Linked DNA regions of Homo sapiens: region 1 is linked to region 2. The links are contacts of gene promoters, found by promoter capture Hi-C in blood cells and fetal thymus (Javierre and others, 2016). All regions are on one chromosome and are shown on one strand. The core of a region is centred on a gene start or on the middle of the fragment in contact, and the rest is flanking DNA. Distances in the headings are between cores, read along the strand shown.

Evidence for each region. Contacts are between HindIII fragments. The CHiCAGO score rates a contact against its expected background, and 5 or more counts as called.
Region 1: a fragment that was not itself captured here is called in contact with the fragment with the promoter of SFRP1 in region 2 in 1 of 17 cell types (endothelial precursors); the score reaches 5.3 in endothelial precursors.

The regions. Positions count from the first base shown.
Region 1 is chr8:41,522,720-41,527,655 of GRCh38, forward strand. No RefSeq gene overlaps it. Among named protein-coding and RNA genes, the nearest start is that of GINS4, 4.1 kb to the right of the region's middle. The HindIII fragment of the contact is 1,945 bases long and covers 527-2,471 here.
Region 2 is chr8:41,306,228-41,311,395 of GRCh38, forward strand. SFRP1 (secreted frizzled related protein 1) reads right to left here and starts at 3,246. Exons shown (of 3, transcript NM_003012.5): 1 at 2,389-3,246. The coding sequence starts at 2,932. RefSeq lists enhancers at 1,424-2,195, 2,196-2,966, 4,886-5,168. The HindIII fragment of the contact is 12,075 bases long and covers 1-5,168 here.

The DNA of each region.
Region 1 (4,936 bases), core at 249-2,748, 210 kb after region 2:
GTGGTCCCAGCTACTTGGGAGGCCAAGGTGGGAGGATTGCTTGAGCCCAGGAGTTTGAGGCTGCAGTGAGCCATGACTGTCCCACTGCACTCCAGCCAGAGAGAAAGAGAGATTGAATTTGGCCTGGCTTTTATTTAGACCTTAGGACAAGTCCCTCAAGATCTCTCAGCTAAACTATATAGACTTTAATAAATATGAAGCCTTAGGCTGGGCACAGTGGCTCATGCCTGTAATCCCAGCACTTTAGGAGGCTGAGGCAGGTGGATCACAAGGTCAGGAGTTCAAGTCCAGCCTGACCAAGAAACCCCGTCTCTACTAAAAATATACAAGTTAGCGGGGCGCAGTGGCAGGCACCTGTAATCCCAGCTACTCAGGAGGCTGAGGCAGGAGAATCACTTGAACCCGGGCGACAGAGGTTGCAGTGAGCCGAGATCATGCCACTGCAGTCCAACATGGGCAACAGAGTGAGGCTCCATCACAAATAAATAAATAAATAAATAAGACTTGCCCAACACTTGGGCACATAAGCTTCTCATCAAAGATGCCCATGATATAAAGGCACATGAATTTCTTTATGGAAAGGTCACCTTTCTCTTTGCTTGACATATTCAGAAAAGCATTAGGAAAATAATCTTACTCAACCAGCTACATGCTATGTTGGCCACAGTGTTTCATAAGATATATTTAATTTTTAAAAATTTTTTATGATTATTGTATATTCTACAACAAGCAAAGGGGCAGATAGTTCTTATATCTCCTTACAGAGTTTCAGAGGACCTAGGGTCTGAGGAGAGCAAAGGAATTAGGAATATCATAAATTGCCCAGATTTTCCATTTGTAAGGGAGACCCAAGCCTTGCCCGGCTTCCTGAGTTCTCCAGCATCCTGGCCATGCAGCTGGCATTGGGTGTTATCATTGGCCAGAAAAATACGTATAAGTTCACCAGCCAATAGCTTTCCTTATGAGCCTAAGAGAAAACAGCGTAAGCACACTTTTCTGCCTTCCTTAAAGCTCTTTGGGAGCCCAAGGCGGGTGGATCATCATGTCAGGAGATCGAGACCATCCTGGCCAACATGGTGAAACCCTGTCTCTACTAAAAATACAAAAATTAGCCAGGCATGGTGGCACACCCCTGTAGCCCCAGCTACTCGGGAGGCTGAGGCACGAGAATCGCTTGAACCCAGGAGGCGGAGATTGCAGTGAGCCGAGATCATGCCACTGCACTCCAGCCTGGCAACAGAGCAAGACTCCGTCTCAAAAAAAAAAAAAAATGCAAGCTGTCCTCTTACATGGCTGTCTGTAGTGCCAATCTTCATGCATTCAGAAAAACCGGGAGTTAAACTCAACTTAACTAAAACACTCCCAAATCTTAATTCTTTGGTTTCCAGGGCAGTGAGACCAAGATTGTGATGGAATTCAGAAAAAGGGACCCCTGAGAAACAGCTGCTGACCAAACAAGCAAGGGCACTGATATGAGAACAATAATAATGCCATTACTTGTATTCTGAAAGCATCTTTCTCCAGAAAGCTCACAATTCTGTATAGATATACAGTATTTACTGTTGTTTTTCCTTGGTGATTAAAACATTAAATTTGTTCTCATTAATAATGTATCTTTTTGGCCAGGTGCAATGCCTATAATCCTAGCACTTTGGAAGACTGAGGTGGGCGGATCACCTGAGGTCAGGAGTTCAAGACCAGCCTGTCCAACATGGGGAAACCCCATCTCTACTAAAAACACAAAAATTAGCCGGGCATGGAGGCACATGCCTGTAATCTCAGCTACTCTGGAGGCCAAGGCAAGAGAATCGCTTGAACCTGGGAGGCAGAGGTTGCAGTGAACCAAGATCATGCCACTGCACTCCAGCCTGGGCAACAGAGCGAGACTCTGTCTCAAAAAATAAAAATAATGTACCACTGGGCCAGGTGCAGTGGCTCACGCCTGTAATCCCAGCACTTTGGGAGGCCGAGGCGAGCGGATCACAAGGTCAGGAGATCCAGACCATCCTGGCTAACATGGTGAAACCCCGTCTCTACTAAAAATACAAAAAATTATCGGGCGTGGTGGCAGGCGCCTGTAGTCCCAGCTACTCGGGAGGCTGAGGCAGGAGAATGACGTAAACCCAGGAGGCGGAGCTGGCAGTGAACCGAGATCACGCCACTGTACTCTAGCCTGGGCGACAGAGTGAGACTCTGTCTCAAAAAATAGTAATAATAATAATAACGTATGGCTGTCCACAAATATTTTGGCTGTTTCTATTTGCTGTGTCTATAATTTCCATTAACATCTTCACTGAGAATATCTGAATATTGCTGTGGCTTGTCACTTTCTTCAGTTGTATAGGATCCTATTTTCTGTATCTTCCTCTTCCACTTTGGGCAGTAGCTTTTTCCTTCTCTTTCGAGGTAACTTCATGTTTTACTTGTCTGAATTCATGTTAGTATGTTCATCTTGCAATTTAAATCATCTAAGCTTGCCTGCAAATTCTATCCACAAACTTCATCCTCCTAATATAATAATCTATGTAATCACCTTTTATCTGTGATCATTTTAATGAATTGCATTCCATTTATATGGCTATCTTATTATTTCTAAAACACTTCTTGACAGTGGGTGCACATCAACCAGGTGTTCCTGATTTTTCTCTTCATTCTATATAATGTAATTGAAGACCTCTTTTCTCCCACCTTCCTGAACTTTACAGTGCCAAACGATCAACACCAAAAGTTTGTGTGTTGCTTTGGCATTTCTTTTAATAACCCTTCTTTACACAGCAGAAATATTTTTCTGCCAACTCATTTCCTCTAAAAGTGTTTTTGTCTAATGAATATTAGTTGTAATCAAAGATCTTAGAAGTGAAACGGGTCCCTCAATTTTTTGGTCTGTCCCTCTGTCTTCAGGCAGACACATATTAATTTTGTGTAAAAGGTGGTGTGATTAGCCAGGCGCGGTTGGATCACTCCTGTAATCCCAGCAATTTGGGAGGCTGAGACAGGTGGATCACTTGAGGTCAGGAGTTCGAGACTAGCCTGGCAACCATAGCAAAACCCCATCTCTACTAAAATACAAAAATTAGCCAGGCGCGATGGCGTGCACCTGTAGTCCCAGCTACTCGGGAGGCTGAGGTGGGAGAATCGTTTGAACCTGGAAGGCAGAGGTTGCAGTGAGCTGCGATCACACCATTGCACTTCAGCCTGGGTGATAGAGTGAGACTCCATCTCACAAAAAAAAAAAAAAAAAAAAAAAAAAAAAAAGGTGGTGTGACTGATGGCCAGGTGTGGTGGCCCCCTCCTGTAATCCTAGCACTTTGGGAGGCCGAGGCGGGCAGATCACTTGAGGTCAAGAGTTCAAGATCAGCCTGGCCAACATGGTGAAACCCCGTCTCTACTAAAAATACAAAAATTAGCCAAGCGCGGTGGCACATGCCTATAATCCCAGCTACTCAGGAGGCTGAGGCAGGAGAAGCACTTGAACCCAGGAGGCAGAGGTTGCAGTGCACCAAGATCGCACCATTGGACTTCAGCCTGAGGGACAACAGCGAAACGTCATCTAACAACAACAGCAAAAAAGGTGGTGCAACTGAAATCCAAAGTGACTCGTTTAAGGTCACACCTCTATTAAGTAAGGAAGCAGAAGCTGGGCTCTAGCTCTCCAGTGGAGGAGCGGGGGAGATTGGAGAAGGTGGTTGGACCCAGAGAAGGGAAGTTTTTAAATCAATAAACTACATAATCGGCACTTGTGTAGAGACGTTATCTATGCTTGGACTCAAATATGTAACAATTAAGGAATATTAATAAACATCATTGAAAAGCTATTTGGTAATGAGAATTATGGAAGAATGCGATTGTGCTCAAAGACCACTGTTCCAGTCAGCTAATGCTACATAACAAACCACTCCAAAACTTAGGGCCTAAAACAACAACAATACTTATTTTGCTCACAAATCTGCGATTTGGGCAGGGCTCAGCAGAGAAGCTCATCTCTGCTCCCTTCATCTTAGCTGGGACGGTTTGAAGCCTCAGCACTAGAATCACCTGAAGGCTCATTCAACCCAGACATCTGGAGAATGGAACAACTGGGGTTCTGGGGTTCCTCCAGTAAGGCTCCCCATCTCTGCCTGGCATCTTCATATCGACTCTCTTGCACATCGACTGCAGGCTAGCCAGACTTCTTCCACGTCAGCCCACAGCTCTCAAGAGATGGGGCTCCAGAAAAAAGAGCCAAGTGGAAGCCACATTGCCTTTTATGACTTAGTCCCAGAAGCCAAGCAGCATCACTTCTGCCAAATTCTCTTGGTCAAAGCAGTTAAAAAACTCTTTCCTGATGTAAAAGGCAAGAACAGGGCCAGGCGCTGTGGCTCACACCTGTAATCCCAGCACTTTGGGAGGCTGAGGTGAGCAGATCACTTGAGCCCGAGTTCAAGACCAGCCTGAGCAACATGATGAAACCCCACCTCTACCAAAAATACAAAAAATTAGCCAGGCATGGTACACACCTGTAGTCCCAGCTACTCATGGGGGCTGAAGTGGGAGGATCACCTGAGCCCAGGAAGGTCAAGGGTGCAATGAGCCGTGACCGCCCCACTGCACTCCAGGCTGCGCGACAGAGTGAGGCCCTGTCTCTAAATAAATAAATAGAAGGTGAGAACATAGACCCCACCTCTTGATGGAGGAGTGTCAATGTCACATGGTAAGAAGGGTATGTGGGGTGAGATCCATATTAGAGCAGCTATGTTTGGGAAACACACTCTGCCACAACCAAAAACCACTGGATTACCAAACCGTTGAAACAGACCTTGAAATAACCACCTATTTGCCACTCACAAAATTCATTTCATAAGACACAGCTCAAATGTCCCTTCCTTTTGGGAATCCCGTGCTGATATGCCCCAGCTTACACAGCGCTTTGTAAAGATGCCTACTCTCTCACTCGGCT
Region 2 (5,168 bases), core at 1,996-4,495:
CAGACAGCTGGCCAATAATCCAAAACTGAATTTGCCCAAGTGTGTGAACAGAAACCAGTATGCAAAGATATGACACTGCTTTGAAAATGCATTTTAATTTTAAAGAATAAAAGCATAAAGAATAAACGAATAAAAGAGTAGTGCATGCATACTTATTCTCATTGGAAAGTGCCAGTTACGACCCCACAGCCACAAGCCATAAGGTTATGAGGATCAGTAGTCTGGTTTGTCTTGACCTGCCCTCTACACACCTACACACACACACACACACACACACACGCCCCACCCTCCCCTCCACAGGGACCTCGCAGGAAATCACGTGGGGCTCCCTTACACCAGGGATTGCAGTCCTGGGGAGGGTGGTGTGCCATCTCAGGGCAGAGCCCCCCACCAAAACCACTGAGGGGAAAACCAGTCCCAAGCCCCACTCCCGACCGGCCCTCTCCCCACTTTTCTCTTTGCTCCTCAAAGACCTGTCTTGGGAGGGTGACTACCTGAGCGCTGCTGGGAGGAGTGGAGGTGAGTGAGGACGGTTCCAAGCCAGGCTGAGAAGGGCGCCGACCAGTGGAACTGCAGCCAAGGGGCAAAAGGTGTCCGGAAGACAGCGATTATGGGGTTTCCCCATCCCATCACAGCCTTTTGGGGGCTGGGGTGAGGGATTCTTTCCTCTCTTCTTCAGGCAACCCGTCCAATCCCCCCATGTTCCCTGTGGACTGCAGCACCTTTTCCGCAGCCGAGCCCCCTAAGGTGTCCACTCATGTCTGCAGACGGTCCCAGAAAGAGACCATCGGAAGCCATTGGGAATGGACTCCAGGTCAGGGCTGGGCACAGCCTCACAGGGCAGGGCTGGGCTAATCCCCGCTGGCTGAGGAAGGGGAGAAGGAAATTCCCGCAGGCTGCAGGGGATGGGTGCAAGCCAACAGAACACAAGGCGCTTTGTTTGCTCCAGGTAACTGCTCAGTTCTCGCTCACAAAGTGCAGATGCATCCGCTACCCTCACTCCACTCCCAACACCAGAGTTGACTCTGAGAGCAGCGGTGCCCAGACCTGGCCACTGCGGGCAATCAGTGCCGTTCCCATCCAGCCATCCAACGACAGTCACTGTGGACCCATCTCCACCCTCCCTAGAATAAGCAAAAGCATCTAAAATTTGGGGTATCCCTTTCCCCCACCTGCCCAAATCCTCACTCTGAGGAGCCAGGTGACTGCACTCCCCTCTTTTAGCATCAATAACAGAGGTTAAAGACACTTTAAGGTGAGCTAAGTGTAGGCAGTCTTTCTCCCCCACCCTAAAGGCCCTCCTCAAAAAGCCCTCAGGAAGCCTGCGTCTGTGCTAAGCGCAGCTGGGGTACAGCTCCCCAATCCCTGACCCTCTCCACACCTCAGAGCCTAAACTTCGCTTCTAAAGAATTCTGGGTTGAATTTACTTCTATAGAAGTCAGGTCTGTGATGTGTATATTTTATCTTTATATCTATTTCATTTTATTTGACTTCCCAGGATTTTTTTTTCTTCCCCCTCAAGAATTGCTCTTTAAACATAAGGGGGTTTTGAGAGGAACCTCGGGCCGGTCCCTCAGGCTGTTAGGAAAGTCTGCATTTTGCAGAGCTGCTCTCCCCGGGAGGAGATGAACAATGAGCTAATTACATTTTTATCTTTCTAATGAGCTGAGGATTTGTGTAAATGAGAAAAGCAGGGGGTACGCTAGAGGGAGGGAGAAAAGACTTTCCACCCCCAGCCCTCCGAGGGCAGAGCTGGTACCTGGAAGGGGTGGAGAAACAGAAGTCCCCACGGTTCCTAAACTTTCTCAGCCAGTTTTGCAGCAATCCCAAGGCTACTTGACTGAATGACCAGTGAAGGAAAGGGCTTGGTTTTATTTTTTAAATCTTTGTCGAACCTATGAAAATAAACAAAAGCTGCTCCAAGCATTCTCTCGGCCTTTCTGAACTTTCTACGCTTTGGGTTTTTGTTTTTTCCTCCCGTCTCAGAGGTTAAAAACTTCGATAGGGACTCGGAGTCCTCCTAGAGGAGAGGGAAGCTCCCCTGTTATTTAAAGCGCAAGGCTTTGTTTCAGGTATGGGAAAGGCGAAGTTGGATCCCAGGAAGAGCGGCTCCGGGGACCACAGCGAGTCCCTGCGAGGCCAAGGCGCAGAGCTGCCGCTCCCGGGCCAGCCCCGCCGTGCACCTGGGTCGCGAGGGGCGCTGAGCGATACCTGGGACAGACCAGACGCGCTTAGGAATCACGTGCACAGCATGCGAGCAACCTCGGGCCCTCAGTCCCCAGCACCGGGACCCAGCGGCGGGCGGGCGTAGGGTGGCGCGGGTTCTCCTGCAGCTCCGGCCGGGGGATGGAGGGGGCGGCTCGCGCACGTGGGAGGAGGCAGCCTTACCTTGGGGCTTGGAGGCTTCGGTGGCATTGGGCGGCGTCATGGCGATGCAGACGTCCCCCTCGGGGAACTTGTCACACTTAAGCATCTCGGGCCAGTAGAAGCCGAAGAACTGCATGACCGGCTCGCACGAGTCGCGCACGGCCTCGCAGAGCCAGCGACACGGGTAGATGGGCCGGTCCAGGCAGACGGGCGCGAAGAGCGAGCAGAGGAAGACCTGGGTGCCGGCGTGGCAGTTCTTGTTGAGCAGGGGCACCCAGCTGCTGGCCTGCTGCTTCACCTCCGCCATGGTCTCGTGCTCCAGCAGGTTGGGCAGCACCATCTTCTTGTAGCCCACGTTGTGGCACAGCCGCAGGTCCGCGGGGATGTCCACGCACTGAGGTGGCTTGGTGTAGAAGCGCCCGCTCTGGTACGGGCCGATGTCCGACTGGAAGCTCACGTAGTCGTACTCGCTGGCCGAGCCCACGGCCAGAAGCGCCGCGCCCAGCGCCAGCAGCACGCCCAGGGCTGCCCCGCGGCGGCCCCCCTCGCTGCGCCCGATGCCCATGCCGGCTCTGCGCCCTGTTCTCCGCGACGTCGGGGCTGCCTCCGCCGCCTCCCCGCGCGCGTCCTGCCGCAAACTTCCAGGGACCTCCGGGGACAAAAGGCGCAGTCCCCAGCGTTGCCCGGCTCCGCGGCCGCAAGCTGCTGCCCGGTCCCCCCGGCCAGTGGCGGCCCTCGGCCTGCGGTCGGAGGCGGCGCGGGCGGGGAGGCGGCGCTGCGGGCTGGGTGCGCCCCGGCTCCCGGAGGTGCGGCGAGCAGGAAGGCGCGGGGCGGCGGGCGCGCGGCACTGACTCCGGAGGCTGCAGGGCTGGAGTGCGCGGGGCTCCTACGGCCGAGCCCTCGGAGCCGCCCCGCGCAGCCAATCAGCTCCCGGCGGGGCGAGCCGCACTCGTTACCACGTCCGTCACCGGCGCGGGAGCCAATCGCCTCCCTCGCGAGCGGGTTCGGTTTACTAGAACCAGACGCGGCTCAACACCCCTTAAAAAACAAAACCAAAAATACATAAATAAAAGGGGGAGGAGGAAAGAGACAAGGGGAGAAAAAGAAGGGGAATGGATCACGGCGTGGGGTGGAGAGAGACCAGGGCGGACGCTGTAATTAACTCGCATTGGCTTGCAGAGAAGCGGGGAGCCTGGATCATACTTGCAAACCCATGAAATTATGAAGACTTTTTTTTTTTGAGACAGTTTCGCTCTTGTTGCCTAAGCTGGAGTGCAATGGCGCTATCTCCGCTGACTGCAACCTCCGCCTCCCGGGTTCAAGCGATTCTCCTGCCTCAGCCTCCCGAGTAGCTGGGATTACAGCCGCGTGCCACCATGCCCCCGCTAATTTTTTGTATTTTTAGTAGAGACGGGGTTTCACCATGTTAGCCAGGCTGGTCTCGAACTCCTGACCTCAGGTGATGCTCCTGCCTTGGCCTCCCAAACTTTTTTTTTCTTTTTCTTTACACTGCTTCCTAATTTCAACCAACAGCCCTTTAGACTAGCGGCTCCTCTCCTCGGTTCTCTAGCTGCGGTGCAGACAGGTGGTTTCCCAACTAACAGGGGTTCAGGAAGGCTGAAGCGAGGGAGGTCTGCTTGTAAATACCCAGTGGGCCTGGCTGGGCTCCCTGGAAGGCGAGGCGAAGGCGCAGTTGGAGCTGTTTGCTGTGAGCAGCACCTCTCCAGGTGGGGCCGCCCATGGTGGCCCTCAACACTGGGGCAGTGGGTGGACTTTGCCCGGTGTGGCGGCAGGAAGAGCTGCTAGCAACGGTATTAGCTCTGGGAGGACACTTTTTTAAATATATAATATATATTTAAATAGAAAAACCCTACTCAAGTCCTAGCCCGGGCGACAGCACATCTGTGTGTTTGTGGTGTGGAAAGCCAAAACATTAAAAACACATGTGCACTTATCAGCGTGGCTGGTGTAAATACCAAGTCCATCACTCAGGCACACATGCTAAGGTTAGACCCAGTCCAGGAACTTCAAGTTAAAATCAAGGGTCCCCACTAGGGCAGACGCCAAGAGGACGGTATCAGCACAACAGCTCGGCCCCCAGGAACAGAAGTCTCTCTGCCACCTTCTACCTCGAATTCCTGAGAATTCTTCGTAGGTTTCAAACATTCCCCTGAGAGGGAGGGTTAAGCTCTGGAGAGCTGGGAGTGAGACCCGGACTATCCCGGGACAGAAGACCACAGCAAATAGTTCATGAAGTTCCTGGAGTCTCCATATCTTCTGTCCCTAAGTGCGGGTGGAGAGAGGCTGATATATTCATAGCCCAGTCTGAGCGCACACCCCATGTGGCAAAGGGGTCACAGATCTTAGCGCTCCACAGAGACACTATAGGGCGCGCTGCCTTGCCCGCCAGCTTGTTTGTAAAGCTCTAGGGAGCTTGCTTTGGACTCTGCAAACCTAATTTCTTGATGGACAGATTCCAAGTGAAATGACTAGAGTTTGTGAAGAAGCAGGGCTGTTTTCTTAAAGCATTCGTGCCCGTACAGACACGGTGATTCCACGGTGCACACAGGAGGCTTCTGCAGATGGATGACTTCTCTGTCATTTCGTGGCCAATGGAAGATGCCTTGACACTCAAAAGGTGACATGGAGGCTGGAAGGAAAACACAGAGAAGAGAGAGCAAGATCGGGATGGCCAAGGGTTAATCCCAAGACAATTGGTGAGGCCGGCCTGTGGAGCTGAGGAAGACATTCCTCACAGAGAATAAGACCGCAGGAGACCCGGCAACTGTGTCTCAATTCAA